2 separate regions of the Homo sapiens genome follow, and region 1 is linked to region 2. Evidence: promoter capture Hi-C in human tissues and cell types (Jung and others, 2019). All regions are on one chromosome and are shown on one strand. The core of a region is centred on a gene start or on the middle of the fragment in contact, and the rest is flanking DNA. Distances in the headings are between cores, read along the strand shown.

Region 1 (6,581 bases), core at 4,064-6,563, 530 kb before region 2:
CTTAAAGTGCTGGGACCACAGGCATTCACCATCATGTCTAGCTAATTTTAGTATTTTTTTGTAGAGATGGGATCTTGCTATGTTGTCCAGGCTGGTCTTAAACTCCTGGCCTCAAGTGATCCTCCTGCCTCAGCCTCCCAAAGGGCTGAGATTACAGGCGTGTGCCACCAAGCCTCGCCTAGAGACAGGGTCTTTATGGGGATGATTCAGTTAAAATGATGTCATTAGGGTGGGCCCCCTTCCATATGACTGCTGTCCTCATAAGAGGAAATTTGGACACAGAGACAGGCACAGAGGGAGGACGATGTGAAGACCCAGGGGAAGACGGCTATGTATGAGCCAACAGAGAGAGGCGTGGAACAGATTCTCACAGCCCTCCGAAGGCACGAACCCTGCCAACACCTTGATCTTGAATGTGATCTTAAACGTCTGGCCTCTAGAACTGCAAGCCAATATACTTCTGTCGTTCTGGCCACCCAGCGTGCGGTTCTGTTACAGCAGCCCTAGCAAACTCAGGCACCCAGCAACAACAGTCATGAAACACCCCTAGCGGGGCTCCTTCTCTTGCACATACAGCCCTGTGCAGCAGGGCAGAGATGGGTTTTAAACAAGTGAGTCAGACAAGGATATCTTATTCATCACTCCGACGAACCCATGGGCTGAACCCTTGAATCACTACTTTATTTATCATCGGGCTCGGGCTCAGAAAGTCTCGCTGAGGAAATGAGTAGAACCCAAACTCGTCAGCTGCATTTCTGAAACATGCCTAATCTCTGAGGCTCTTTCCCAGCCACGATAGAAATTGAAAGGGAACGGGGCTCTGGGCTGCGGCGGTGGGCTGGTGTGGAGACAGAGCCCTTTGTTCTGCCACTCCAGGGACCACGAGGGCAGAAGAGAAGGGCTTGTCTTGCTTTGCCGAGAGGCCGCCTGGGGCCGTCTGAATGGCCGGCCGAGCAGGGGCAGCCTGGCACAGCTGGGCTGGGGATGCCGGGCACACAAAGGGCTGGTGGGTGGGGTGTGGGGGCAGCACCCAGAAGGGACCGTCAGTCCCGTGGCCCCAGAGCGTCTCCTCCAATCAAGGTAAAGCAGCAAAGTCACGGTCAAGGAGGGGGCCAAGCAGGGAAGGGGACAGCAAGATGGACCAAGAACAAAAATTCAGCAGTATGTGCTTGGGAACGGGCGGGCGAAAGGGCCCATGGAAGAGATAATGCAGCTTACAAAAGCGACGTTTATCCGGGGCAACCTCCAAAGTAGCTCTTGGGAGAGAATCTAATACCTCTAATCTCAGAAGAAAAGCAACAGATCATTCTAAGACGAGGACAGTTCCTCCAGAAATCCAGGTCAGTCACAAGACAAAGAAAAGACAAGGGCACCCGCTGTCCACCCTCGGGCACGTTGCCTACCCTCCCACAGTCCGTTCCTAACGGTTCCTCCTTTTTATCAAGACCCGCTCCCTCCTGATTAAGAACTGACTGGATGGCAGGATTCAGTTCCTGGTCTCTGCCCCTGTTCCCACTCTTAGTGGCAGTTCCTCAGGGGCTCCACAAACACCAAGGACCCACCAAGGCAATGATGGGCCCTAGAGGGGAACCAGGTTTTACTAATGAGCATCACATTTCACCTGGCGGGGGAGGTGATTCTGCCCCCAGGGGACACGTGGCCATGGCTGGAGTCATTTTCAGTTGTTACCCCTTGGAGGGGATGGAATACTACTGGCATCTCATGGGTGACAGCCAGGGACACTATTCCACATTCTACAGTGCACAGCCCCAACTGTCAATGGTGATGCGGGTGAGAAACGGCCCTGGAGATTTGGGTTTCCCCAGTTAAAGGTTACTAAGGATCCTGCATGTTTCTAGAAAGCTCAAGGAACCATCTCTGAAGTCATCACCTGCCTGGGCCTGTTTCTGTATCAGGAAGATAAGAACAAGGACCCTCGCACTGCCGGTTGGCAGAATGAGAGAGCTGGGATGCCCTGTACAGGCCGGGCTTCAAAGGTATCTGCTTGTGCAATCCCTTCCACCCGGAGTGGTTTAACACGTGGTATCTTTCCAGGTTTGACCTGGGGCCAGCCACTACTTCCGAGGAAACTTGCTGGAATCCCCCTTGTCCTAAAGCTTGCATTGGTTGTCCCTAATTCTCCCCCCATAATATCTTGTGGCCCCTCTGTCACCGTACTGATGACCTGATCTGAATTCCATTCTTTTTTTTAATTATTATTATTTTTGAGGGCATCTTGCTCTGTCACCCAGACTGGAGTGCAATGGCGCAATCTTGGCTGGCTGCAAACTCCGCCTCCTGGGTTCAAGCAATTCTCCTGTCTCAGCCTCCAGAGTAGCTGGGACTACAGGCGCACATCACCACGCCGGGCTAATTTTTGTATTTTTAGTGGAGACAGGGTTTCTCCATATTGGTCAGGCTGGTCTTGAACTCCTGACCTTGTGATCCACCCACCTTGGCCTCCCAAAGGGATTACAGGCCTGAGCCACCGCGGCCCAGCTTGAACTCCATTCTTTCTGAAGAGGAAGTGCAAAGTTGTCGGGGGCGGGCATTAGCGTGTCCGTCCTCTGGGTCATAAGGATTCACCTCTGTCCCCAGGAATCTACCAAGTGTCTGGCACAATCAACCCTTGCCTAACTGAAATCTAGGCCCACCCAAGACACACCATTTGGAAGAGATGAGGAATGGGAAGCAGCAAGTTAACAAGTCCATGTGGGGAGAGAATAACGAATCCTACAGCCAAACAGAAAGGGGAGATTCCCACGTCTCTACCTGCTCCACTGAGTCACCAGACTGGACCCGAGGGACGGTACTGCCTCGGGATTTCCAGAAATTTGCAGTTTCCAAAGCTTTGGGAATAGGTGCAATGTGCAAAAGCACCTTCAACACCGCAATTTTCTATTTGGACGATGAAGAAGCGGTTGAAAAAAAATCATTTTTGGATACAAACTGTCGAATGGAAAACGGAATAAAAGTAGGATCATCGCAGCCAGGAATGGAGAGTGGGGGTGCTGTGAGGAGTTCAAGGCCGGGAGCTGGGGGACATGGACTGGAGACAAGACGGTGATGAGAAGAGTTGGGTTTCAAGGTTGAAAAACGCTGATGGAGGTCAATTCATTCATTTTGCAGGTGAGAGGTCAGAAACAGGCACAGAGACTTGACCAAAGCCAGGATCTCCAACACAGTGCTCCCCCCACAAGACCCTGCTTGGCCATTCTCTAGCGGCAGGGAAGAGGCGATTGCAGGGCTGCGGGATCAGAAGATCCCGGTCCTGTTCTGTAGGCCAGTGCAAGCCTACAGTTCAATGTTTGCAGGAGGCATGACTGTGGGCTGTCACTGCATGTCCTGGGGCAAGCCAGGCCAAAGCCACCTTTCCTAAAGGCCAGGATATTCTGGAAGTGAAGGGGGTGCTTATCTTTCTGTGGCCCTCTTTATATTCCAGCTATCCGGGTTCATCTCCTGAATGAGCTATAAACTAAACATAAGCTGGGGTTCCCCAGCCCTTCTGGCAGATCCCAGATAAAGATCCCTACAGTTGGGAAAGGGGAGAAATGAATGCCAATCAAAAGCACCCTGCACAAAGTCCCTGCCAGGGCCACAAGAGCCAGGCCTGTCAGATGTGAATAACTTTCCTGTAGCCCAGGTCACCTCCGGCTGCTCCTGGACACCTTAAGATTCTGAAGACTCCAACATCAAAAAACAAACCGAGTTGGGACTCTCTGGCTGGAAAGTGTCCCCACGGGCTCCCACCTCAGACAAAGAGGCAGAGAAGCCATCCCTTAAAGACCCCTGGCCTCCAGGGTGCCCAGGAAAGAAAGGAGGGCTCGTGGCTGTCGTGCCTCTCCAGGGCTGAGCTCAGAGCAACCGGGGGACAGATTTCCTGTATGTCGTTTTACCCATTTAAGTCCAAGGATGCAGCTCTGCGGAGGTGGCGACAGTCCTGTACATGAGGGTGCATGCACACTCCCTCCTGAAACACAGTTCCGGCCCCACAACCGGCCCTGAGGTCCCTTCCTTGGATCCAGGGAATCCCAGAATCCTGCTAGTCCTGTCTTAAGGGGAGGGTGGTGAAGTTTCCAAGACGAGGACACTGGCACAGAGGGTGTTGGGACTCGTCCCAGGTCACCCAGCTGTTAAGTGTGAAGTCAGGAGGGACACGAATCAAGAGGGGAGGGTGGGGGGACGGAATCTCCAGGGGCTGCATCTCAACATCTATCTGCACGGGGCCACTCTAACCCCTTCCTTCTCTTCCCTCCTCTCCGGGCCCTCCCTCCCTAAGCCTACCCTCAGTTCTTACCGTGACTTCTACTCCGTTTACTTCCCTTCCAGCTCCCATTTCCCCGCTTCCCAATAGCCGGCTGCCGCATCAGTTAGTTCAGAACCCCCCGCATTTACTGAGCGCCCACTGGGGGCCAGGCGCCGCCCTCTTCTCAGACACCCTTCCTTCAATCGCGCGGGCAGACGTCCCCAGATCGGTCTCGCACCCCTTCCCCTCAACCGCACCCCGGCTGTCCCGCCCCTGGCCTTGCCCACTCCCCCAGCCTGGGCCTCTCGTTCCCGCCTCCGTGCCTCCCCACAACGCCGTTTCCTGCGACCCCCCAATTACCACTTAAGCCACGTCCTCTTCAGAGAAGCTGCTCAAAGCCACAAGACTCACCCCCCCCACGCCCTCGAACTCCCTCACCAGCTCCATCCCCATCCACTTTCTCCTTCACCGTCTCGCTTCCACCTCATCCCCAGCAATCTCTCCAAGACCCCCAGGCTCGTTCCCGCCCCCTCGACCCCTGCCGTCGCGTCCCCCATCAGCCCTCAGCTCCGTCCCTCTTCTGCGCAGCCCCCAAAGGCAGGCTTCGAGCTCGAGTCGCCAACCCGAGGCTGCCTGGTACTCACCTGGCCTCGGCCGCCGCGCGCCGCCGGTCCCGGGCCGGGTCCCCGGCCGGACGACCGCCTGCCAGCCCGCCGCTGCTCGAGCCGCTCCGCCCCGCCGCGCCCGCCGCTCCCCCGCGCGCTCCCGCTTCCGGGTTCCGGAGAGGCGGGGACGGGGGCGTGACGCCAGCGCTCCTAGGGGCGGGGCATCGCGAAAAGCCCCGCCCCTACTGTCCGACAGATCAGGTCCCACCCACCGCCCCTACCCACTACCGCCGATGGTGGGCGAGACCAAGTGCGAGGGGAGGACAGGCGAAGCGCGCGTCTGGGGCCGCGCTCTCCACACTTAGCCGGCGCTGCCTCACGCCTCGCAGCCACCCCTCCTGCGTCTCCACAAATGGTCCGACCCGCAAGCAAGGGGGCGGGTCCGGCTTTGAAAAGCCGGCGGGTCGGGCCTTGAGGTGGAAGGCGGGAAAATGGCGGATTCCTCGGGGCGAGGCGCTGGGTGAGTTGGGGCTTCCGCAGGTCTGGATTTGTAGACGCCATAGGGCTGGAGAGGATGGGCAGCGGAGGTGGGGAGTTAGGACCCTCGGGGTGAGTTCGGGTTCGACCCCGCCAGGAACTGCGCGGGCCCCTGAAGACCCCGATGGCGTGCTGCCTCTGCGCATGCTCCGGAGCGCTGACACCCGACCGGCCCTGAGTTCCGCGTCCTCGGCTGGGACGCTGGGCGACCTCCGGCAAGCGGCCTGACCGCCCAGTGCCTCGCTTTCCTCCGCTACGAAATGGGGCCGATGACGCAGCTCAACCTCGTAGGCGTCGCGTGAGGCTGAAACGCGCTTAGATCGGCGCCTGGGTCTTTACTGTGATGTCGCTCTTGGAATTATCGTTATGCAGTGAACAAGTGTTGGGCGACCAAAGTGTCCCCTTTAATCCTCCCACGCGCTTTATTCTGTGCTCCCAGTTTACTGAGGAGATGATGGAGACCCAGGGAGGGGAAGTGACTTGCCTAGGGTAACACACCATGAACAAGAAAGAAGTTGAATACTGACCGAGAGCTAGGCATGAATGATCATGAGGCTATATTTGTCTAGTTTTGTTAATTCTGCCAGTGTTGATTGTGCCAGGTGCAAACTGAAGTGAAATTGGCCAGCAAGAGGAATCACTCCACCGCCCCTTGCCGTAACCGATAGATTGACAGTAGCACCTCCCAGGTACAGGTGCAGTAGCTGAGGCTCGCACAGGTTGTAGGGACCCCCCTCAGGTCGCAGCAGGTTCACCCAGGAGCCCATTCGGTTTGAGGCCACAGCCCTAGCACAGTCCCCAGAGGGAGTCTGTGCTCTTGTCTCTTTCTGGCTGTGAGACTGCCCCGGGGGTGACCTATGTAAAACCTGTGCGTCTTTGTTTTGCAGCGACGAAAAAGCAGGTGTGAACAGTTAGGAAGCTGTCGGGTTAGGAGGAGCCTACGGGCGAGCGCAGCTGCTGGCACCTGGCGAACATTTGCTAAGTTGCCTCTCCCCACGGTGGCCTGGAAGTGTCCCCAACATTGTCTGGGTCTCACTTTGGGGTCCTGGGAGCCTGCTTCAGAGGAGGTGGCCGCAGGGACCAGTGGAGCCGCCTTTGGTGATGGGAGCAGGAGTTACAGTGCCCTGGCCTTGGCCCTGCCCCTCCACTTGCCCATCCACTTGCCCCTCCTGTGTTGCTGGTGTCTGTTCTTG
Region 2 (6,785 bases), core at 122-2,621:
AATTGCTTGAGCACGGGAGGCAGAGGTTGCAGTGAACCGAGATCACACCACTGCACTCCAGCTTGGGCGAGAGAGAGCAAGACTGTGTCTCAAAAAAAAAAAAAAACCAAACAATTAAGATCCTCGATCTTCATGAGAAAATATGAACTAGAGGACATTTAGAAAAAAAAAAATCCTTGATCTTGCCTCCTGACCTGCAGAGTCTAAAATATTTGCTTTCTGTCCCTTTTATACAAAAAGTTTTGTTGATTCCTAGCCTACAGCAACACTTGATGTAGAGTTGTCAATCCATAAGCATCTGGTGGAAAAATGCTGTTAACAATAAAAATGAAACTAATCTAAAATACATGTGCATTTATTTGCACAGAAAAAAACAGGCTGGGTAAAGTAGCTCATGCCTATAATCCTAGCACTTTGGGAGGCCGAGGCGGGAGGATTACTTGAGCACAGGAGTTCAGGGCTAGTGAGCTATGATCATGACACTGCACTCCAGCGTGGGCCACAGAGCAAGACCTTGTCTCAAGAAAAAAGAAAAAAAAAAACGGATAAAGGAAAAAAAAGCGGCGGGGGCGGGGGGCAGGTATAGCCAACTAAGCATTAACCATCTCAAGAGGATCAGTTTATATCGGACGTCCACAGCAGAAATTTGCTGCTTCTGGCTATCTTTTCCCCACAATTAGCAAGGGTTAGCTTCATTATTTTAGAGGCAACCCAACTGCAGCTTTTAGAAAGGCGCTGTGCCCTCTAGGCCAGCAATTTGAGGGCATGGGTTGGGGGGTACCCCGCCCCAGTCTTCCTGACCAAAGAGTGGAGCGGAAGAAAGCCAGGAGGAGGATGTTTTGAACCTAAATACGTCCAGCTGCAATCCCAGTCAAGCTCGTCGCCCCCAGTTCTGCTCCACCTCCGGTCTGGCCGGGGAGAATGTGACAGTCGCCGCAGCCCGGGATCCACCCGGACGCACCTCACCTCGCAGTCTCCTCACTGTGCCCGCGAAAGGAAAGAGACCCTGGCCCAGGCACGAAGTCCCCAGGCCCCTGGTCGCCCGGAGGTAGCAACCAGCCAGCCCATCGGGCTGCGACGCCGACCAAGGGGCACGCCCCGCGCCCCCCGGTCTCGACTAACACCCACCCGCGCCGTTCCAGCCTTTCCGCGGCGCCGCGCGACGGGGACCCACTCTGCGAAAGTGTCAGGAAACTTCTGCGCGTGCGCGTCGCTAGCCCCTCCCGCGCGCCAGGCATCGCGCGGCTTCTTCCCGCCTGCCTCCCGCTCTCACTTCCGGAGTTTCCCAGCGACGGCCGTAAGTGGCGGGCGGAAGCGGCCCTAGAAGCCCGCCGTAAACGGCTCCCTCGCGCCACTTCCGGCCGGCTTCCGCAGACGGCGCTGGTGGTCGATCGTGTGGCGCCGGAGGACGTTCCCCGCGGCCGGAGCCATGGAGATGCCGCTGCCCCCCGATGGTGAGACCCAAACCGGCCGAGAGACCGTTTCTCTCTCCCCGGAACCTCCTATTGGCCGGCCCCGCCTCCCGGAGTCCCCGGGTCTGGGAGGGGGCGGGGCTCGGCCTCGCGGCTTCGCCTGCGGCCTCTCCCGTGGGTCCCCGCATTCCCGGCGAGCGTGTGGCCCCTATCGGGACCCGTACAAGGGCGGCCTCTTCGGGGCCCACCCCCTTGGGGTCCCCGGCAAGGCGGACGGGGGCTGGGGCGCCGAGTCCCCCGGCTTTGGGCGGTCCTCGCTGACGCCCCGCGTGGCCTTTTCTCCGTCCTCCAGACCAGGAGCTTCGAAATGTCATCGACAAGCTCGCCCAGTTCGTGGCTCGCAATGGGCCCGAGTTTGAGAAGATGACTATGGAGAAGCAGAAGGACAACCCCAAATTCTCGTTTCTTTTCGGAGGCGAATTCTACAGTTACTACAAGTGCAAGCTGGCGCTGGAGCAGCAGCAGCGTGAGTCCCCTCCGGCACTCAGGCCGTCCCATCGAGCGCTTCCTTTCTCGGATTCCAGTCCGGGCTCTGCCACAAACCTCTTTCTTTCGGGTCGTTTATTCTTTGAAGTGGAGCAGCTCGGTCCACACGATCCCTGTTCCGCTGTTCCCACGGCCCTGCACAGAGCGGCTGCTGGGTGCCACTGTAATGGAGAACAACGAGGTTTTCGATCCTCCCCCCTGGGCTCTGGATCAGGGATTTTGCTGTTGTTTTGCAGACTGATGACGGAGATTAGCAGGAGTAGCGTGATTGTTTTAGTGTTTTCTAGGGAGGAAGTGATAGAGGCCGGATGGGAGTCCATGGGACAGGCACTGTCCAGCCCCCTTTGCCGTCTCCCTGTGGGTCCAGCAAGGTTTTGTGCATTTCAGATGCCTGCAGCAGAAATCAAAAAGAATTATCCCTCTGAGTTTTAGTTATTGGCAAGTGTTTATCAATGTTCGTTCATTTAGGCAACAGGATTCCAGTCCTGCTCTAAAGAAGTTTAAAGTTAGGAAGCAGAGCTGGCCTTTGAATAATGGATAGTCACCAGGTGGTGCGGCTGCTCAGGGCAGGTATCACATCTGTCACGTTCAGTACCCAACCCCGTCTCTAGATTGTTTAAATGAATAACTAGGAGTTTGCCAGGTAGATGGACATTGAGAGGTGGTTGTCCGCTGTTTGATCGAACGCCAATTGTGTGTTATGTATTAAGGTACAATGACCCAAACAAGGTCTGTTTGGCTTCGGCGAGCGTGTAGTTCAGGGGACTACACGCTCGTCTTGTATTAAGGTACAAGGTCATTGTCCCTTAATACATAACACACAGTTGGTGTTCGATTAAACAGCTTGAAAGGAGGCCTGTTGCAGTGGCTCATACTGTAATCACAGCACTTTGGGAGTCCAAGGCGGGCAGATCACTTGAGGTTAGGAGTCTGAGACCAGCCTGGCCAACATAGTGAAACCCTGTTTCTACGAAAAATACAAAAATTAGCCGGGTGTGGTGGCCCGCGCCTGTAGTCCCAGCTACTTGGGAGGCTGAGGCGGGAGAATCGCTTGAACCCGGGAGGTGGAGGTTGCGGTAAGCCAAGACCACGCCATTGCACTGCAGTCTGAGTGACAGAGTAAGACTCCATCTCAAAAAAAAAAAAGAAAGAAAGAAAAAGAAAAGGCTTGAAAGGAGGCCAGGCGTAGTGGCTGACGCCTGTAATCCCAGCACTTTGGGAGGCTGAAGCGGGCAGATCACTTGAGGTTAGGAGTCTGAGAACAGCCTGGCTAACATAGTGAAACCCTATCTCTACTAAAATTACAAAACTTAGTCAGGTGTGGTGGCACACACCTGTAGTCCCAGCTACTGGAGAGGCTGAGGCAGAAGAATCGCTTGAACCTGGGAGCTGGAGGTTGCATTGAGCCGAGACCACACCATTGCGCTCCAGCCTGGGTGACAGAATGAGACTCCATCTAAAAAAAAAAAGCAGCTTGAAAGGAGGCCAGGCCCAGTGGCTTGTGCCTGTAATCCCAGCACTTTAGGAGGCTGAGTCAGGCGGATCACTTGAGGTCAGGAGTTCGAGACCAGCCTGGCCAACATGGTGAAACCCCATCTCTACTAAAAATACAAAAAAAATTAGCCAGGCATGGTGGTGGGCACCTGTAGTCCCAGCTACCCGGGAGGCTGAGGCAGGAGAATCGCTTGAACCTGGGAGGTGGAGGTTGCAGTGAGCCAAGATCGTGCCACTGCACTCTAGCCTGGGAGACAGCGAAACTCCATCTAACAACAACAACAACAAAAACTTGAAAGGCTGAGAGAGTAGAACATTGCAAAGGGGCAGTTTCTTGAACAAGAAACAGAGAGAGAGTTTATGTGTGTATTGCCAGGCACAGTGGCACACACCGTACCCCCAGCTACTCAAGAGGCTGAGGCTGGAGGGTTGCTTGAGCCCGGGAGTTCAGGGCTGTAGTGCGCTGTGTCGATTGAGTGTGTGCAGTAAGTTCAGTGTCAGTATGGTGACCCCCTGGGAGCTGGGGACCACTCGACTGTCTAAGGGGTGGTGAACTGGCCCAGGTCAGAAATGGAGCAGGTCGAAACTCCTGTGCCGATCAGTAGTGGCCTCACGCCTGTAAATAGCCACTGCACTCCAGCCTGGGTGACATAGTAGAGAATCTATTTAATAAAAGAATGTGCTTGTATGAGGGAAGAGTTTGACCTGGAGTGTTAACTGCCAGGGGAAAAGTTTGGGTTTTTTCACTCAATCCAGGGGTTTTTCTGATGCCTATTTAGGTTTGAGATGCGGGGGTGGGGTGGAGAGAGATCAGCTGCCTGAAATCGTAAGCAAAATATTGTATGTGCTTATGTGTTTCTAGAGCGATCCTTCCTTAGCCCCAGCACACCAAGTTTAAAACCGTTGCTAGGCCGGGCGCGGTGGCTCACGCCTGTAATCCCAGCACTTTGGGAGGCCGAGGCGGGCGGATCACGAGGTCAGGAGATCGAGACCATCCTGGCTAACACGGTGAAACCCCGTCTCTACTAAAAATACAAAAAATTAGCCAGGCGTGGTAGCGGGCGCCTGTAGTCCCAGCTACTTGGGAGGCTGAGGCAGGAGAATGGCGTGAACCTGGGAGGCAGAGCTTGCAGTGAGCCGAGATCGCACCACTGCACTCCAGCCTGGGCGACAGAGCGAGACTCCGTCTCAAAAAAAAAAAAAAAAAAACCGTTTCTAAAGGCAGCGGGAAGCCACAAGAGTTTTAAACAAGGGAGAGGGTGGCTTGGGTTGTGTGGCCGGTGGTGTAGGACAAGCTACAGGGACCAGCCTGGGGAGCAGTGAGGCCTGCAGGGGAGCAAACAGGGCAGTTGTTTAGGTGAGAGATGGTGGGGTCTGAATTAAGTCAGTAGGTTGAGCCTGAGGGAGGGAGCATGGGGGGCAGGTGGGGTGAAGGGGTAGAATCCATGAACTTGGGCGCCAGTTGCATATTGACGACCTGATGGTGTAATGAGCAGGGGAGGAAGACACCTCAGACGGTGCTTTGGCTTGGGTGACTGAGCTAAGGGCTGCTTTCCCTTTCTGGGGCGGGGGGGTGGCCACTTGGAAGCTGGTGCCATTATGAGGAAGGAGAGGGTGCTTATGCTTATAGCCCAGGAAGATTGAAGCCAAGAAGTGCTTTCTTTTTTTTTTGGAGATGGAGTCTTGCTCTTGTTGCCCAGGCTGGAGTACAGTGGCAAGATCTTGGCTCACTGCAACCTCTGCCTCCCAGATTCAAGCGATTCTCCTGCCTCAGCCTCCCAAGTAGCTGGGACTACAGGCGTGCGCCACCACACCCAGCTAATTTTTGTATTTTTAGTAGAGATGTGGTTTCACCATGTTGGCCAGGATGGTCTTGATCTCTTGAACTCATGATCCGCCCACCTTGGCTTCCCAAAGTGCTGGGATTACAGGCGTGAGCCATCGTACCCAGCCAAGAAGTGCTTTCTGTGGGTGATGATATCTTGGCTAGATGTAAAGGGTGTGTTGGAGTTGGCCAGGTGAAAACAAGGGGAGAAAAGTGTTCCGGGCAGAGGAAGGAGCCCTTGGAGGGAATGGGGAACCCAGAGCTTAGGGTGGCTGAAGCCCAGAGTAGGAGGGGTTCTTGGAGTGGCCAGAGGTGGGGGTGCAGAATTGGGAGCCTGGCTTGGGGAGGAGTTGGAGGCCTGGCTTGGGGAGGAGTCGGGGACCTGGCTTGGAGAGGAGTGAGGAGTGTATCCTGGAAGCGTGGGAGAGACTCGTGGAAGGTTTAGGTCTGTGTTGTGAAGCTGGGTTAGCCACAGTACAGCCAGTTCTGCACCCCACGCCTTAAAGCCTGGGCCTCAACTGTTGTAGAATGGAGCTTCACGAACTCTGTGGTGAAGGACCATTTCTGGTGTTGTGTTTTAAGTTTCTAACCTGTTGTGTGTGGACCAAAACTTCTGCAAAGCACAGTAACAATGTGGACCGTGAACCATCACGCTGCTAGAAAGGTTTTGAAATGCTCCCTTTCTGGTTCCATAACCGTCTGTCACCGCTGGGTAGCCCAGGGACCACTCCATAAGTGGCAATACCATGACTGCCATGTCAAAAAGAGGTAGAGGGATGGGACCTGATGCAGGAAGACCGGTTCTGGGGTGACGCAGGTGACAGCAGATCCATGGTGGTGACAGCGGGGACATAGACTGATTGGAGTGATGTCTCGGAGGCCGCCTTGACACTATGTGGCTCGTCACTGGGAGGCACATGCTACTTCTGGCCTGGGTTTCTGGGCAGATGGTGGTGCCAACCATGGTGCGGGGAGCACAGGAGGGGACATAGGTGTAGGGGGTGAGAGGAAACACAGGCCCCTTGGAAACACAGTGGGCCGTGCAGTTGGTGGTTAGGGCCAAAGCTCAGGAATCCAGAATGGAGATGATGGATTTAGGAATCACACCATGCACAATCGCAGCCACAGGAATGAGTAGCTCATGTTGCCCGGCGGTTGCGTAGAGCGGAGGACAGGGCTCAGAACACAGGCCGCGCACCCCAGCATGTGAGGGTCCAACGGGAGAGGGGTTGGTAAAGGGGGAGAAAGGGACTGAGGGGGCGAACACATGGAGGCCAAGGGAGGCAAGCACCTGCGACAGGCCCGGGGGGCTGAGTTGAGTGAGGGTGTCCTCAGCTGCCTGGGGGAAGGAGGGGGGTGCGGGGAGTGGCAAGCAGGCACCAGGCTGAGATAAAGGGGAGGTGAAGATCTGGAGTGAGTCTTGTCTGAGAAATCGTTTAGAGAGGGATCATGGGGTAAAGGGAGAAGTTTCCAACCCAGAATATTCTGATGTGTTTATTTATTTCCTT

The links. The method cuts DNA at HindIII sites, captures the fragments that hold promoters and counts their contacts. A contact is called where the count stands out against the background at its distance.
Region 1: a contact is called between the fragment with the promoter of HAUS8 here and the fragment with the promoter of CHERP in region 2, in 1 of the 25 tissues and cell types used here (dorsolateral prefrontal cortex).

Annotation. Positions count from the first base shown.
Region 1 is chr19:17,074,184-17,080,764 of GRCh38, reverse strand. HAUS8 (HAUS augmin like complex subunit 8) reads left to right here and starts at 5,313. Exons shown (of 11, transcript NM_033417.2): 1 at 5,313-5,371. The coding sequence starts at 5,343. It overlaps MYO9B (myosin IXB), which reads right to left and starts at 4,988. Exons shown (of 40, transcript NM_004145.4): 1 at 4,891-4,988. RefSeq lists enhancers at 469-1,006, 5,371-5,570 and silencers at 1,019-1,118, 4,552-4,846, 4,841-5,190. The HindIII fragment of the contact is 30,356 bases long and covers 2,484-6,581 here.
Region 2 is chr19:16,537,023-16,543,807 of GRCh38, reverse strand. It overlaps CHERP (calcium homeostasis endoplasmic reticulum protein), which reads left to right and starts at 1,371. Exons shown (of 17, transcript NM_006387.6): 1 at 1,371-1,454; 2 at 1,765-1,938. The coding sequence starts at 1,430. It also overlaps the pseudogene RN7SL146P. RefSeq lists silencers at 1,470-1,659, 1,670-1,739. The HindIII fragment of the contact is 9,580 bases long and covers 1-6,785 here.